Regions from separate parts of the Homo sapiens genome. Here region 1 is linked to region 2. Evidence: promoter capture Hi-C in human tissues and cell types (Jung and others, 2019). All regions are on one chromosome and are shown on one strand. Each heading gives the region's core, a stretch centred on a gene start or on the middle of the fragment in contact. The rest is flanking DNA. Distances are from core to core; before and after follow the strand shown.

Region 1 (5,619 bases), core at 1,482-3,981, 310 kb before region 2:
CAGAGCGAAGGGGGAACCCCTTATAAAACTGTCAGATCTCATGAGAACTCACTGTCATGAGAACAGCATGGGGGAAACCGCCCCCATGATCCATCACCTCCACCTGGTCCCCCCCTTGTTACAATTCAAGGGGATTGTAACAATTCAAGGTGAGATCTGGGTGGGGACACAGAGCCAAACCATATCAGAGAGTCTTCCTGCAGTGTCCGGGTGGGTGCGGCATGTTCATAGGGTCTTAGAAGAGGGAAGCAAGAGGTGAGAGGACAGAAATGCCACATTGCTGGCTTTGAGGGTGGGGCCAGAGGAGGGACCTGCAGGCAGAGATAGAGCTGGAAATGGAAAGGAAACCTTCTCCCTTAGAGTCTCCAGAAGAAGTGCAGCCCTACAGACCTGTGTTAGGCTTCAGACCTCCAGAATTGTAAAATAATAAAATTGCATTATTTTAAGCCACTCGAGGCCCATGTCCTCAACAAAGAGAAAGACGGTGGGGTGCTGTCAGCCAGGGTAGGTACCTGCTTGGTGGTCTGGGTCCTTTCCCACTGTGTCCATTCAGTTACATTACCTGCCCATCTGCTGAGGCCTCGAGTTTGGGACCTCAGGTTTATATAATTCCTTGCACAAGCATGATCGATTGATTCCGGAGAGTAGCAGAACACTGATATGCAGGGGAATCTCCTAGTTCCAAGTGTGAGTTGTAGTCTAGACACTTCCTGTTCCCTACAGTCTTTTTTTTTTTTTTTTTTTTTTTTGAGACAAAGTTTTGCTCTGTTGCCCAGGCTGGAGTGCAGTGGTGTGATCTCGGCTCACTGCAACCTCTGCCTCCTGGGTTCAAGCAATTCTGCCTCAGCCTCCCGAATAGCTGGGATCACAGGCACATGCCACCATGCCCAGCTAATTTTTGTATTTTTAGTAGAGTTAGGGTTTCGCCATGTTGGCCAGGGTGATCTCAAACTCTTGACCTCACATGATCCGCCCGCCACAGCCTCCCAAAGTGCTGGGATTACAGGCGCAAACCACCGCCCCCAGCCCTCTTCCCTACTGCCTTGATGTGTTCATCTGGGCAATGTGTGTTGAGGGGGCATAGGGAGGGGAGCTCTAAGGCAAATGTGCTGGGATTCTGCATTCGTCATCCTCAAAACAAAATTGGTCCCTAGGTAGTTCTGCCTGTGATCCTGCATAATGTGCAAAGCCAGTAAGATGCCTTTGCCTCATCCCCAGGGAACATGCCTCCCAGCCACTTTCATCTCACCTAGTGCCTACACAGAAAGGCAACCGCCTCCCTGCTGAAGGGACCCCACGCCTGTCTCCTGTTTCCACACAATTACCCCGGGAAATGCCTGGCTTCCCATTTCCAGTTGCAGCCATCTTGACAGTTTCAGCCTCTCCCCACAGCCCACGTCCCTCACTTGAGCAGCGAGATGTGAAGACAGACAGCCGCTTGAGAACTGCACAGACTGTCCTTAATCTAAGCCATTTAAAAGGCATTTGTGTTCCATAAAACCCGTTTCTGTAATTCTGTGCCCCTACTTCTTTGAAAGATGATAACCCTAGGGAGGAGATTAGCCAGGGAGGAGAAGTTCAGATGTGCTAATATTTTAATCGCTCATTCTTTCATCACATTAGTCACATTCATTAAGTATGATTAATTTCAGGCTTTGTTGAAAACCCTATCAGTTTCCCTATCAGCCACACATCCATCTCTTGCCAAGCAGGCTGGTGCAGTAGCACCAAAAGTCCCCCAGTGTTTTTTACACCTGGATTGTATTATGTGCCCCCTGAAAATGTGTGGAATTAATTGAGCTCATTTGTTTCAAATACTTTGCAAGAGCCTGGGCTCTTGAGTCAGGCGGCCTAAGTGTGATCCTAAGTCCTCCCATTGCTGGAGTCACCTGGGCAAGTGACTGACGCCCTCTGAGCCCTGGTGTCCTCGTCTGAGGATGGAGATAAGAATACCTAACTCGAAAGTTGGTTGTGAAGATGAAAGAAGGCTTTCAAATTGCTAAGTTAGTTGGTTATGATTGTAATTAAGGGCCCTTGGAGATGGATCATTCATCCATTCATTCATCCATTCAGAAGATTTGTGTACAGTGACTACTGTATGCAACCCTGTGTGTCCACTGCTGATGAGAGAGACAGCAGCAAACACAGCAGTCAAATGCGTGTGGCCCCCAGGACCTTATATTTTAGTGGTGGAAGCTAGACAACCACCAAACATGTAATATACCAGATGGTGGTACGTTCTATGGAGGAAAGAAAGGACGAGGGGCAGGGAGTCCTGGGCTGGTGGGACAGGGTGCTATGGCTCAGAGGGAACTCAGAGATCACCTAATTCAGGCCCTGACCTGGAGGGCTCATGCTTTGCACACTGTGCTAAGAATTTGGACTTTCTTTCTCCAAGAATAAGGACAATGAGAGCCAGCAAGCAGGGAAGTGGAGCAAGGATGGTGCCGTCCGGCTGCTCAGCTGCTGGCTGGAACTCCCGGAGGACTCTGTGAGGATGCAGGTAGAAGGTGTGTAAGCATGTGACTGCATGGAAGCCCTCGGCATGTGATCCACTCCGTGTTCCAAATTGCCATCCTTTCTGCGTGCTGTTAGGGACTTCCCCCAGCTCTCCCTGCAGAGTGAGGAGTACTCTGAGACAGACGGGTCTAGGATGAACTGTGTTGATGGAGAAATGAACATTTTTTGGAGGGAAGGAAGATTTCGGGGTGTGGGGCATAAGTTGAAGGAGTATGGCTCTGAAAGTCCTTGGGCAGTTTGTAGAGGACAGAGAAGGTGGTAATGTCAGTTTCTGCCCCTCTCCCACCTCCACCTCTGGCCTTCTCAGTGGTCCTATGGCTCCCTACCTTCAGTCATCTTGTTCTCAAGCCTGAAGTGCTGGATCCACTCAGCTGCAACCCAGCTCAACACCTCTGTGGAAGCTTTGCCCATCAATCAGGAGAAGCTGAGATCCAGAGACTGATGCCCACGTTCTGTCTTTGCAGAGGGAAGCCCACCAGAGCCCTCTTCTCTCTGGGGAGGAGCTGGCTCCCTGAATCTCCAAGACAAACCCAGACAGCCCTGGGGACCTTGAATGTGAGCAAGGGGAGCAGAAAGGAGGCTCCAGCCCACCCAGGGCCCCTGCAGGGTCTGCACACACAATTACAGGTCCTCATTTCCCTCTCCTAATGATGCCCCAAAACATTAAGGGAAGTTAAATCAAACCACCAGGTGTCCAGCATGAACAGCTGAAATAATAAATTCACGAGGTAAGTAAGACATTTTATTTGTACTATTTCAAAATTGGTAGATGCAGGAAAGCAAATTGTGATGTGCTTGGGATTTAATTTGTATTTCAAGGTACTAATGAAGGTAGCACCCATTTTCCCAAAGGCCTTTTCATCCCTGAATCTTGAGAGCACTTTTCTAAGCATATTGGGAATAAATTAAGTTGCAAAACCTCCATGAAAAAGATTACGGTTAAAACATAATTTTGAGGAACCACTTGAGTTTATCCATTTACCTGCTTTTAAGTACACACACCTATTTTTTTTGCAATTATTTTTCACAAAAGAAGGAACTTTGTGTGACGTATACAAGCAGGTAATGGCAAACCTCCAGCATCTTTAAAATAAAACTCAAATTGGGCTGGGCAGGATATTACATGCCTGTAATCCCAGAACTTTGGGAGGCCAAGGCTGGTGGATCACCTGAGGGAGCTCGAGACTAGCCTGAGCAACATGGTGAAACCTTGTCTCTACTAAAAACAAAAAAAATTAGCCAGACATGGTGGCGGGTGCCTGTAATCCCAGCTACTTGGGAGGCTGAGGCAGGAGAATCACTTGAACCCAGGAGGTGGAGGTAACAGTGAGCCAAGATCATGCCATTGCACTTCAGCCTGGGCAACAAGAGCCAAACTCTGTCTCAAAAAAATAAAATAAAATAAAAATAAAACTCAGGCTGAACTAAACCAGCCTTCTGAGTCAATGTGCAGATATTCCATAATGAAGTATGCTGATTAATAAATTATTTGATTACCAGGTAAGTATACCTGCAATCAATATAACTGCCGAAAAGCTCTGAATTAGAAATGGTGCAATAAAATTTAACTGAAAGGTATTAGGAATTGGTAGTTTTAATTACAGGGAATGATTAATTGATCATTTAGACAGTATTGATCTACAACTTATTTAATTCTTTGCAATTTAATTTGTCAGATTTGAATCCAAATAACTGATGATTTGTTCCATGAATGCCAGAGCTGGAAGGGATGGGGTTGGCAGAAGAGACAAGACTGGACCATGGACCTGGTGGTTCTGTGCAGAGGCCAAAGCTACTCTCCTTCCCACCTGGCCCTGTGCTGGGCCTAACCTGGAGCCCCCTCTATCCTCTGCCTCATTCTTCTCCGGGTCAAGGTCCAGCATGAACTCCATGTCCTCCAGGAAGCCCTGGTGGACTTGGGCAGACCTGGGGACACGTCCAGCCTCCTGGCAAGATGGGGGTAACAGGAGTGTGTATAAAGGGGAAGGCAAGAATGTGCCCTTGGTGGAGCAGTGAAAAGAAGCCCTCATGTGACAAGTGTTTTGCTCCTAACCCACCTCCTCTGGTGACATCTTCTGGGTTAACTGCTCTTGCTGATCTCTGCACATAAACCAAGCTAACTGTGAGAGGCCTTTCATTTCTAGTTTAAAGCAAGGAGACCACAGTTCCTTCTGAACACTCACCCCCAAGGAGATAAGGAGGGCGTCCCATGAGCAACACTGTGTGTTAAAGATGTACACGAGCACTGGGACCTGACCAAGGACAAACACGTCTCCAGCCCCCTCAGACCCTTGCTGCTGCTCAGATGTCCGCTGTCATCGGTCACATCCTAACCTCAACCCCCTCTCTCCTCCCACATAAAAGGAGGCTGAAATTCATAGTAACTTCAGATGGTTCTTTAGGACACTGGCCCACCACCTTCTCGGTTGCTGGCTCTCCAAAACAAAGCCCCCTCCCTTGACCCAATTCCTTGTTTCTTGACGTACTGGCTGTTGTGCAGTGCATGGTACCGGCTTGAACTCGGTTATGTTGGCATGGCCTCTGGCGGTGCTCAGTTTGTGTGGATGAGTATTTTACAGCTACTGTCCTATTTCCAGTCCCCTTCCTCTGGACGGCTATGGGATGTGCTGTGGATGCCCTCTCTTAGGCTGGAATAAACCACCCTACCTTCTCCTCTGCCTTGTCTCCACCAAATAAACTCCTTAAGGCAGGGATAGAGTCTTGCACTCCACGAAGAAGTATTGCTGCATCCTCAGCTGTGTAAGAGTGACCGGGCTTCTTCTATTCCACCTGTAATGGAACTTTAGGCACGCAGAGAGAGATGGCAAATTTGTGCTGGCTGAAGGGGTCAGCAAATGCATATAAGGCTTCTTGTGCTCCAGAGAGAGAATGGAGTGCAGTCAGTGAGACCCTGAGGGGAGAAGGAACCAAAAGCCTGGGCAGAAGGGATCGTGGAGGTGCCCAGGGTCAGGAGGGATGGGAAGGGTGAGGAACACAAGAGATCACCTGGAGGCATTAGAGGAGAAGGCAGGCACTGGGGATGGTGCCGCTGATCCAGGTGGAGCAACATCCTAGGACCCGAGTGCTGGGCAGGTGCAT
Region 2 (5,388 bases), core at 365-2,864:
TGCAAGTCTGCCCTCTCCCTTCAGAAGCTGAGGACAGCAATGGGGCCTGGCAGGGTCTTACATTCGGGGGTCCAAAGTGGTTTCTAAGGGCACATGGGATTTCCTAGGAAAAGCTCCTGCCATGACAGAAGGAGCTGGCAACTGCCTCTGTGGAGCCCCTAGAGAGGAACTTGAGGGAAAGGAGGAAAGTCCTATAGGACCCCCTTCTTCCCTTTGCCCCCAGCAGGAGACCTTAGAAAACAAGGGCTTGATAGATGAGCCACAGTGAGCCAGGGGGTGGGAGTGACTCCTGGGCCATAGACGAGGAAACTGAAAGGCAGGCACTGGAGGCAAGAAGGGCTGGCCCCGGGCACCCGCTGGCGAGGACAGCCTTGGAGAGGGCCTGCAGCTCCTCCCCTCTGAGCTGTGCTGCGCTGGCCGCCTGGACCAGGGTGGCTGCTGGAGAGTGTTTTCCCTCTGGGTTTCCTTCTCCTTGGCTCCCAGGGAATCCTCTGGCGGTGCCTCCGGGAGGCTGGTAGCCGGGGAAGCAGGCACGTGAATCCACCGGGCTGCCCCACCCCAACCTGAGGTCAGAGCTGAGGCGTAGGGGCCGGGGTAGGGGCAGAGGTGCCGAAACGCACTAGCTGGGGACTCCCGGGGGAAGGAGATAGGAGAGACCCAAGGCGAGCCTTAGGACTCGCCCCTATGACTATGACTACGCGCTGCGTCCGAACCACATGTCCACCCCGCATTTGCCTTCGGGGACCAGACCGCGCTCCCTCAGATGGCTGGGGAGGGAGCAGACTCCGGGTGAAGGCTGGGGGAGGTACCGGGATGCCGAGTACGCCAGAGCAGGCGGGGGATGGGTTCCGGCTTCCTGCCGCCTCGGCATCTCGCTTTGCACCGGGCAAAGAAGGGGCCACGACCGGCGAAGAGCGCGTGGAGACACAGGGACCCGCGATCCAGGGGCAGGAACCCCGCCCCCTCCCGGAAACCTCCCGGGCCCTGAGTCGTGCCCGGCGCTCCCCACCCCACCCCACCCCCGCCGCCCCTGCCGTCACTCACGGCCGCTGCGGGCTGGCTAGCGTGTGCGCTCTCCGCGCCGCAGGCACCTGCTCGCTGGGCGCTGTGCGCTCACTTCTCCCTCGCGCACTGCAGACTCCCGGCGCTGCCGCCGCCACCCAGCGTAGTCTCCGGCTGGGCACAGCGTTCCGCCCTTCTCGCGGCCCCGGGCGCCCACCCATCCGTCATGGCCCAGGCCTGGGCCAAACAGCGGGGCAGCTGGTTGCCCAAACTGGGGTAAGGAGTTGAGGGCTGGGAGCTGCAGAGAGGACCGAGGGACACACGGGGAGCAGGGATGAGCGGCCGTCTCGAGCCGTGCAGACTGGGAAGAAGCCAGGGAGAGTTTGGGTGGGAGGACTCCCAACCCAAGCGGGTGCGGGGCGGGGCTGTACTCCAACCAGAAAGACGGTGGTCCCTCCGAGCGACCCCCGAGGAGAGAGGGGGAGCGCTCTGGGGCGGGGGCGGGGCGGGCTGTGGCAGGAGAGGGGAGGGCGGGGGCGATGCAGCGGTGGAGGCGGCTTGGCGCCCAGCCACTGACCGCCCCCTCCCTTCCCCTCCCCTCCCCCTCTCCCCGCCTCTCTCCGGCTCCGGGTCCGCCACGCCGGACCCGCTCTCCCCGCGCTGCGCTGGGTCGGACGCCAGGTCTGCGCGCCGCGGCTGAGCGCCCACTCGCCCTGCGGAAAGAGCCGCGGAGGAACCGGCGGGGGCGGCTGCGGGAGCCGAAGGAGGTGGCAATCGGGAGCAGAACCAGAAGGAGACAGGGAGGCAGAAGCTCGCGGCTCCGTGGCACGCACTCCCTCGGCCAGGGATGGGTCCCGGCGCGGCCCAGCCCCTGCCCGGCCCGCCGGGCAGAGACTGAACCGCGGATCCCCACCGTCCTGTGGACGACCGGACAGAGAGAGGCACTGACCGATCGCCAGCAGCCTCCCGGTGGGACCGCGTCTCCTGCACACCCCGCGCAGCGCCCCCCGCCGGAGCCGCACCGGGCAAGCCGGCGAGGGAGCGGGGCTGATTGGCGGCCGCCGGCGGCCAGGGGAGGGGGCGCCGCGCGGGGCCATGGCAGGCTCGGAGGCGTCCTAGCCCGAGCCGGAGCCGATCCGAGCCCACGCGGCCGCCGCCTCTCCGCTCCCGGGCCCCCGCCGCCACCGCGCCCCCCGCGGGAGATGGAACAGCGGAACCGGCTCGGTGCCCTCGGATACCTGCCGCCTCTGCTGCTGCATGCCCTGCTGCTCTTCGTGGCCGACGGTGAGCGCGGGAACTTTGCTGCCGCTGTGGACTCGGGGGGGTCTTTGCTGGGGCCGCCACCGAGAAGAAGAAGAAAGAGAACGAACCGGGAAGCTTCGCGGTCTCCAGCAATCCCGCTGTGCAGCCTGGGCCCGGAGGGGTAGGGAGAGGCGAGCGGCGAAGGGTCGCCGCAGCAGCAGCGCCGCGCCCGAGTCGTTCCCAGTCCCGCCGGGGCCCCGGCTGCGGAAAGGATGCCTGCGGGGAGCGGGAGTAGGCGCGCCCCAGCCAGGCTCTGGCGGTGCGGCCAGGGGCGGGGGAGAAGCACGAGTCGCCCCTGCCGCCCCGCCCCATCCGGAGGGAAGCAGTAGGCAGCCGATGGCCGGTCCCTGCCTCGGCCCTGCAGCCGCTTCCCCGAACTTTGCTAGCCCCTCCGGCCGTGCGCCAGGGAGCAGCTGCGGGGTGGGGGGCACAAGGCCAGCCAGCCAGAGACCGACTGCCTCGCTTTAGGTTGCCCCAGGCCCCCGACCTACAGCTGGTCACGCCTCTCTCTCTCTCCCCACCCCCAGCTGCATTCACAGAAGTCCCCAAAGATGTGACAGTACGGGAGGGAGACGACATCGAAATGCCCTGCGCGTTCCGGGCCAGCGGAGCCACCTCGTATTCGCTGGAGATTCAGTGGTGGTACCTCAAGGAGCCACCCCGGGAGCTGCTGCACGAGCTGGCGCTCAGCGTGCCGGGCGCCCGGAGCAAGGTAACCCGCCGCCCACGCGGTACCGGCGCGCGCCCGGCTCGCGCCCGGGGCGGCGAAGGCTAACCCAGGGAGGGAAGCAGCGGGCTTCACTCGCGCAGGGCGCCGCCCTGTGGCGCAGCCCATCTTCCACCTTCGCATCCCAAAGCATCTTCAAAGTCAGCAGTGGTTACCCCCAAACCTGTCAATTATTTTGACAGCATCGCTGTTCCCACCACCTCCCAGAACTCCATTCACGCCCAGCCCCTAAAGAGCCACACCTCAGCCTGGTCGCTTGCTCGTGCTCGCTGGCTGCGGCCCTCTGATGGGTGCTGGGTAGTGAAGGAAGCCCCCTTGGTCCCATCAGGCTCTCCCCGCCCTCTGCCACTTTGAGGACCCCAGGGCTCCCACGGCTGCGTTCCAGAGGCCACCAGAAAACCGAGTACCGGAAAGCCGGCAGGACCTCCAGCCCTCAGGGGCACAGAGGGGCCACTTCTCTGTGGCCGAAAACAGGCCCACGCTGCCTGTCTGCCTCAAAACCCACACTCTCTTACACACTCTAGTGTGCTCGCGTGCACACACACCTACACACACACCTACACCTACACACACCTACATTCTCCCAGGGTCCCACCCAGAGTTACTCCCACTGAGCCTCCCGCTGGGTGCTGTCCAGACACAGCGGCCCTCCCTCCAGTTCTTCACGGCTCCCAGTGAGCTGGGGGAGGATTTTGAGCCACGCGGCAGGGCCTAAGGATGCCCAGAGGGAAGGAGAGGGGCTTTCCTTCCCACCCTGGTGTCCATCCAGTCTCCCCAGTTCAGCCGGCAGGTGTGCACCAGGGCAGCCACCCGTTGGTCAGGCACCATGCTAGCTCCAAAGCCCGCTTCCTCCTGGGAAACTCTTGGAAAGCCGGACGTCCTTTGTGCCCTCAACCCCCATCCCCCGGGCGGTTTCGGTCCTAGCCTGCCGGAGGAGGGTGCCCTTGCCTAAAGGCGGATCCGAGTTCCCCTAGCCAGAAGGCCGCGAGCCTCACGTCTCTCTCTCCCTCTTTGCATTTTAGGTAACAAATAAGGATGCAACTAAAATCAGCGTAAGTGTGGAGCCCAGCGCGGGCCGCGGGAGACCCCTTCTGGCCGCCTCGGGTCCCGCAGCTCCCTCCCTTAGCAAGCCGCGGCGGCCGCGCATGTGGGGCCGCGCAAGTAGGGCAGCGATCGCAGCCTTGCATCGGTGGCTGCTCGGCGTGTCCGGGCGCCATCTGTCGCCGGTTGCAGGGTCGGGTTCTCTTTTGTGTAAATCAAGGGTCCAAGGCTTGAGTCCCCTAATTCGGCTCGGCGCTGACCTGTAAAACTCCCCTTGGTCGGACTGCGCGCTTAGGGCCTCTCGCGCCTGCCAGCCTCCGCTCTGCGGGCATTCCTCCTAGCACCGGGAGCGCGCGGCTGCTCGCCCTCGCCGCGACCGTGGCGCCAGCTTCCCGCCCCCTCTGCCCCGCCCTGAGCATCTGCTCTGCGCCCTCCGCTGCAACCCTTTATCCTCCGCCTGGATTGCGGGTCTGGGTGCGGGGTGTTGCAGGCTTGCAGGGGACGGGGTAGGGGGTGGTTGTGCCAGGCTGCGAGGGGCCCGGGTCATGGGGTTGCTAACTCTGGGAGGAGATGCGCCCAAGCTTCCCACCTGGAGCGTAGAAAGGCCTGGAGATGACGAAGCCTCCTCGTGGGCTCGGTTCAGAGGTGAGGGCTCCCTGGGTGTTTGTTGAGAGCCGTAGAGCAGTACTTCCCGAAGTCCCCACCGGGGCGCAGGGGAGGAGCACTTCGCTGGGGGGCTTCTGGAGATCCCGCGGAAAGGCGGGTTGGTAGCAGGTGGCCAGGGAGCCAGGCAGCAGCCTCAGCGTTGCTTGCCTTCTTAAGAAAGCACAGTGTTAGCTGTAAAGGGCGGGGTCCGGTGACAGGGTGGCTTTCCTTAGGAAGCGATTCGGGCAGGCCCTCCGTGCTCCGGGAGGTGAGGAGGGCCGGCTGGGGCGGGACTGTCGGTTGGAGCGCGTCGGGGCGGGAAAGACGTGGGGAAGTTAAGGAACAAGGAATCCAGCCTGGGGTTTCCTGAAGGTGCAGGAGGGAGGAAGGAGAGGTGGACTCTGCCCTTCTGAAGCGCCAGCTACGGGAAGACAAGCAGTGTTGGTTTGTATGGGCGGGGCAGATGCAAGGTGGGCGTTTGGTTAACGTGATGGGGACGTGGGGACACAGTCCAAAGAGCTGGCTGCCTGGCGTCCACGCAGAGTTGGAAGCCCTATGCCACTGGGTAGACGCGGGTGAAAGGGAAGCCGGATCGTGATGGTGGGCAAACCAGGATCCGGGAAGTGTTGGGGTGCGCGGATGAGGGGGCGCGACGGCCAGGGTGGCCAGAA

The links. Contacts are between HindIII fragments. The study calls those that stand out against the background at their distance.
Region 1: a contact is called between a fragment that was not itself captured here and the fragment with the promoter of VSTM2B in region 2, in 1 of the 25 tissues and cell types used here (dorsolateral prefrontal cortex).

The regions. Positions count from the first base shown.
Region 1 is chr19:29,216,469-29,222,087 of GRCh38, forward strand. No RefSeq gene overlaps it. Among named protein-coding and RNA genes, the nearest start is that of UQCRFS1-DT, 6.0 kb to the left of the region's middle. The HindIII fragment of the contact is 3,089 bases long and covers 1,188-4,276 here.
Region 2 is chr19:29,524,380-29,529,767 of GRCh38, forward strand. VSTM2B (V-set and transmembrane domain containing 2B) reads left to right here and starts at 1,615. Exons shown (of 5, transcript NM_001146339.2): 1 at 1,615-2,286; 2 at 2,832-3,016; 3 at 4,054-4,083. The coding sequence starts at 2,205. VSTM2B-DT (VSTM2B divergent transcript) reads right to left here and starts at 1,371. Exons shown (of 10, transcript NR_040029.2): 1 at 1,045-1,371. LOC124904683 (a long non-coding RNA gene) reads right to left here and starts at 4,901. Exons shown (of 2, transcript XR_007067215.1): 1 at 4,662-4,901. The HindIII fragment of the contact is 17,468 bases long and covers 1-3,516 here.